Regions from separate parts of the Homo sapiens genome. Here region 1 is linked to region 2. Evidence: promoter capture Hi-C in human tissues and cell types (Jung and others, 2019). All regions are on one chromosome and are shown on one strand. Each heading gives the region's core, a stretch centred on a gene start or on the middle of the fragment in contact. The rest is flanking DNA. Distances are from core to core; before and after follow the strand shown. Region 1 holds the start of ADAM7-AS2 (ADAM7 antisense RNA 2). Region 2 holds the start of ADAM7 (ADAM metallopeptidase domain 7).

Region 1 (2,700 bases), core at 90-2,589, 73 kb after region 2:
GTCACCTCCCAATTCAGCCAGAGCATGGCTGAGATGTTTTTGTCCAAGGAAGAACTGTATTTGGGGATGGACTAAAACTTAAACACTCTTTGAAGCCCTCATTGGCCACTTCCTAGCAGACACTTTGGGATCCTTGAATCTTTCCCTTGTGTTATAGTGACCTCAATTTCTGGATGATCCCTTCTTAATAGAATAGACCTCTACTTGGGTGGTGCTTTAATTCAGCTTAGTGTGTTTGGGCAAGCTGTCTGTTGCTGTCTCTGCCATCACTGTGCATAAAAGGGAAGACGGTGGGTCAGGGGATGGCAGCGGCCAATCAAGAGATAACAGCCCTCTGCTAAAGCTTCCTTCCTTGCTTTAATCAAATGAAGAATGCACCAGATGAGGGTCACTTGGAACACATAGGGAAAGGTAGAATGCCTACAAAGAATCTTCCAGACCCCATACTACTGCATTTCCATGAAATGCACAAGGTCCATGGGAAGGATTATTTTACAAATGAGGAGGCTAGGGATTAAGAGGTCCTCAAACACACAGCCAAGAAATGGCAAAACAGGAATCACAGGCCTCAGACCAAAGCCACCATCCGAACAGTAACTCATTCCAGTTTTAAAAGTGACAGCATCACAACTGGCCACTGGATGACCTCAGAGTTCAATCCTGCTAAAAGTAGCTTTGGATTGAGACCATCCTGGCCAACAAAGTGAAATCCCGTCTCTACTAAAATACAAAAAATTAGCCAGGCATGGTGGCATGCACCTGTAGTCCCAGCTGCTCGGGAGGCTGAGGCAGGGGAATCCCTTGAATCCAGGAGGCAGAGGTTGCAGTGAGCTGAGACTGCACCACTGCACTCCAGCCTGGCGACAGGGCCAGACTTTGTCTCAAAAAAAAAAAAAAAGTAGCTTTGATGTTGAAAGGGGCTGGGTAGTAGAGATCAGTTAGTGGGCCCTCCCCAATCCTAGCCAAAAGGAGCACAGTATCCATTTCATTTTCACATCTTCAGGTTCTTCAAAGTCATGCCTAAAGTGGGGAAAGAATTAAAAGATCTACTGTCATTCTAACAGGATTCAAAGAGAGGAACCACTGGATGGAAAAATGTGAATTATTTTAGACAAAGCCTTTAGCATTTAAAATACTCCTCATCCCATAATTAATCTATTCCTTTCTCTCACGTTATCAGCATCAGTGCCTTGATATCAAAGTGTATGTCAATAAGTCACAGAAGGGAAGATAATAGTTGGAGTGACCTTCTGAGCTTCTAGGTTGTTCTACCCTCTCCCTTAAAGTCCTGGCTCAGGGGTGTGCCTCCTCAGGTCCACCAGGGAAAGCAGCTGTAGAGTAATCTGATCCTCTCCAAAATGTCCGTGACGCTGTCTCTGAAGAAGGACATTTCCCAAGTTTAAGCTATCATTACCTACTGCAGTCTTCTGTCTGGCTGAAGGAAGGAAGAAATAATCTCCTAAAGTGGCACATTGTGCAAATCTGATGCGTCAATCTTGAAGCACTGCCAAGCAATTCAGAAGAGAAATAAATCAATTCATTCCATCTCCTTAATGCTGCCGTGTCTAACAGGTTTCTATGCTGAAAATATCACCAGCTGGACACTGTGACACTTAATATTGCACCTTCAGAAATGAATTATCAGGCACAAGCCCAGTCTGATGTCATTCTCCTTCCCTGGTTCACTTGAATCTTCAAGAGAAAGAACACTCAGGCTCAGAAGGAACAATGATAAAATGGTAGAACAACATGACATCACCTCCGCATCACAAAACAGGCAAAGTTATAATCCTCTTCACTAGGATCCCTCTGTGACTCCTCTAAACAGAAACAATAACAAAAAAGCAGAGGCAGAGATTAAGCACACTTACAGATTTCAGAGGGGAAAAAACTTAGAAAAGTAAAAAACGAATGTGGACTGATGCCATGTAGGTTCTATTTACTTATCCATTAACGTCTTTGTTCAACATGTACTCATCGCATACTGGCTGTGTTAGAGGTATTATTCTAGGGACATGTAGATATGTAGGTGTACACAGCCCTGCCCTGAGAAAACCAAGCTTTGTGAGCAAGCAAAACAGGCTTCTAAATGGATGGTCATAAATTATGTGATGTCTGTATCAAAACATCTCATGTATCCTCTGAATATATATACCTACTCTGTACCCACAACAATTAAAAATTAAAAGTTTAAAAATAAAATACATTGCCACATATACATGAAAAATGAAATTCTGGAAAAAAATTAGAAAAATAAATTAATGTGATACATGGCACCAAAGAGGAAGGCAGTAGGTGAAATTGCCCAGGGGAATGAAGAGGAGGCTTCTAATGCTTGTTGGAATGGAGAAGGCGTCAGAGAGGTAACTTTTAATCAAGGTCTTAACAAAGGTACAAGGGTTTGCCAAGCAGAGAATTAACATTCCAGGGAGAAGCAGCGAGTCTAAGCATACCTGAGTTTGGTAGGTCTGATCACAGAAAGTAGGTTAGTGTAGTTATATCATGAGGTATATAGGAAAGCATGGTATGAGAGGACATTAAAGACAGGCTGCATTGGATATTCTATGCTGTGGTTATCTGTTGTTGTTTGAGACAAGGTCTTGCTACATGGCCCAGGCTGAAGAGCAGGGGCATGATCTCGGCTCACTGCAACATCTGCCTCCTGGGTTCAAGTAATTCTCTTGCCTCAGCCTCCTGAGT
Region 2 (2,700 bases), core at 194-2,693:
GCATAATCGGAGGAAAAGAGGGTGTTTAATAAATACCTCAAGGAACTCAAAAATTTAAATGCTACATAGAAAAGGATATACCTACAAGTTGCCACTGAACCAGGAAGAAGTTAAGAAGGCTATTGTGGCAAGGGAGCTAAATAGTATATTTCAAGGGGAAGGATGTGGTCAACAGTGCTAAAAATTGTTAAAAGGGCAAATGAGATGAGGAAACAAAATATCTCTTGGATATAGAAATGGTAAAATCACTGGAGATATTGGCCATTTCAGTAGAATAATAAAGGCAGATGCTAGAACTGGGATGTGGTAGGATAAGTTTGAGGTAAGAAAATTGCAAGAAGTCCAGGTAATACTGTGTTAGAAATTTAGCTGTAAAGGAAATGGGAGAAAAAGTGATAGTAAGAGTATATGAGATATAGAATAGAGAGAATTTTTCAAAAAGGAGAGACTTTTGACTTGACTTAAAATGGTACCCCCGTTTTAAGCCAAGGGACTCCGATTTCTCTGCCTCCTTTCCAAGTTTGCTTATGTTTTCCCAATTTGTAAATATCAGTGTCAATTTCCCCACCTGCAAAGTGGGGATTATATTTTATAATGCTGCTATACATGGCTGCTAACTGGGAGCAAGTGAACTGTATGAGGACAATTCTGTTTTTCAACCACAATGGATGAATATTAATGTCAGATGGATTTTTCCTCTTATGTTTCCTTGTAGAAAAAGTCGTCCTTGGAGCAGAGGGTCTAAATATCAAAAGGAAGCTTCCAATTGACATAGATTCGTTCAGTTTGTGGAAATATTAGAGACATATAGATGCGGGTGAGAAATAGAATCCCAAATGAAGATAAAAGGATTCTATTGGCCATGGGATAACTCTACTAACATAACAAGAGAACACAGACATACAGATGGAATTGTCGAGGCCCTTTGCACATCTGTCCATTGGTATTCTTTTTTGTATTGCTTTGAAAGGGCTCTATATTATATGGACACTTACTCCCACCTTTTATTTATTTATTACATACATTTCTGTAGTTTGGATATTTTAATTTTAATATGTGATTTATGCCATATAAATTTTCAATATTTCTCATTTAACAAATGTTCCTTTTAGTTTTTATATGGCATACTCTGCATAGAAAGAATTTAACCATCTTCAACCAAAGCATATATAAATATTTTTCAACATTTTTTTCCTAAGACATTCTTGATTTTTTTCCACTTTTGAAGTTTTCAGATATCTGGAATCAAATTTATATTAGACATGACGTAGGAATCTATGTCCAGCCAACCTTCACCACCACCACCTCGGTAGTTGTCTTTAATTAGAACATGATGTTCAACCTCCAGGTTTTAGCCTCAAGCACCTAGCAAGTTGTGTAACTCCCTCAAGGAACACTTCCTTGTTGTGGATCAAAACTGCCCACCTATCTGTGAGGTGCTTCATCCCTGCAGTGGAAGTGAGGAGGAAGAAAGGTGAACTCCTTTTCTCAAGCACTTCTGCTCTCCTCTACCAGAATCACTCAGAATGCTTCCCGGGTGTATATTCTTGATGATTTTACTCATTCCTCAGGTTAAAGGTATGTCTTGCTCTTTTTATCAGGACTTTCTTATTATGCTGTGAGGTTGTGTCTCTTTAGTCACAAACTTTAAACTGTAAGTGATAAAAACATTAAACGTTGATGATTTTTCTGAGAGCTTCGACTAGATTACAGCTAATCATGAGACTCCATGCATCTGTGTAATGCCATATCACTCTTGAACATTCTGACCCACAGTGAGGAGGAGAAAGGAGTGGACAAGTACTGCATATCTGCAGCATGGCAGGCACTGTGCTGGCCATTAGCTGCTTTGTATGTTAAAGTGTTTAAAATTTGAAATTAATATCTCCACTTTACAGATAAGGAAAATGAGACTATTTACAGATCAGAGAAATTAAATATGCTACTGCTGGCCACACAATAAATTGGTAAAGGCTTGATTCAAATCAGAGCATATTCCAGAAACCCCATGCCCTCTCCTTTTTATTGCTCTTTAAGTATCACACCTTAATTAAGCAGGGCTCATCTCACAGATGACTATCAAGGTGATAGGACATGAATAGAAGATTATGGTTGGCACTGATGCAGGGCTACCCAAAATTCTTTAACAGGTAAAGGTCTTATACTTAACTACGAAAGGTAAGACTTTAAATGCAAACATCCCTGGAAGACCAAATTCAGTAATTTACATTCAAACAGGACAACAGTGCAGGCTTTGACAGGAGACAAAATCCAGAGGTTGGCATGAGGATAACAAAACGACAACTGCAGGCCAGACATGGTGGCTCATGCCTGTAATCCCAGCACTTTGGGAGGCTGAGGCAGGTGGATCACCTGAGGTCAGGAGTTTGAGACTAGCCTGGCCAACATGGTGAAACCCCGTCTCTACTAAAAATACAAAAATTAGCCAGGCATGGTGGTGTGCACTTGTAATCCCAGCTACTTGGGAGGCTGAGGTGGAAGAATCGCTTGAACCGGGGAGGCGGAGGTTGCAGTGAGCCGAGATCACGCCACTACACTCCAGCCTGGCTGACAGAGCGAGACTCTGTCTCAAAAAAATAAATAAATGAAACAAAAAATAAAATTACAGCTGCAGAACATGGCGAAAATATGGAGGAAATGGAGGGACACTGATTTCTTTGGCTCCTTTCCAAGTTTCCT

What was found. The method cuts DNA at HindIII sites, captures the fragments that hold promoters and counts their contacts. A contact is called where the count stands out against the background at its distance.
Region 1: a fragment that was not itself captured here is called in contact with the fragment with the promoter of ADAM7 in region 2 in 2 of the 25 tissues and cell types used here (H1 embryonic stem cells and dorsolateral prefrontal cortex).

What each region holds. Positions count from the first base shown.
Region 1 is chr8:24,513,161-24,515,860 of GRCh38, forward strand. The region is part of intron 1 of ADAM7-AS1 (ADAM7, ADAMDEC1 and ADAM28 antisense RNA 1); the gene reads right to left. ADAM7-AS2 (ADAM7 antisense RNA 2) reads right to left here and starts at 1,708. Exons shown (of 5, transcript NR_125809.1): 1 at 1,626-1,708; 2 at 1,415-1,504. The HindIII fragment of the contact is 4,644 bases long and covers 1-2,700 here.
Region 2 is chr8:24,439,583-24,442,282 of GRCh38, forward strand. ADAM7 (ADAM metallopeptidase domain 7) reads left to right here and starts at 1,444. Exons shown (of 22, transcript NM_003817.4): 1 at 1,444-1,578. The coding sequence starts at 1,527. All of the region lies in intron 1 of ADAM7-AS1 (ADAM7, ADAMDEC1 and ADAM28 antisense RNA 1), which reads right to left. The HindIII fragment of the contact is 5,540 bases long and covers 1-2,700 here.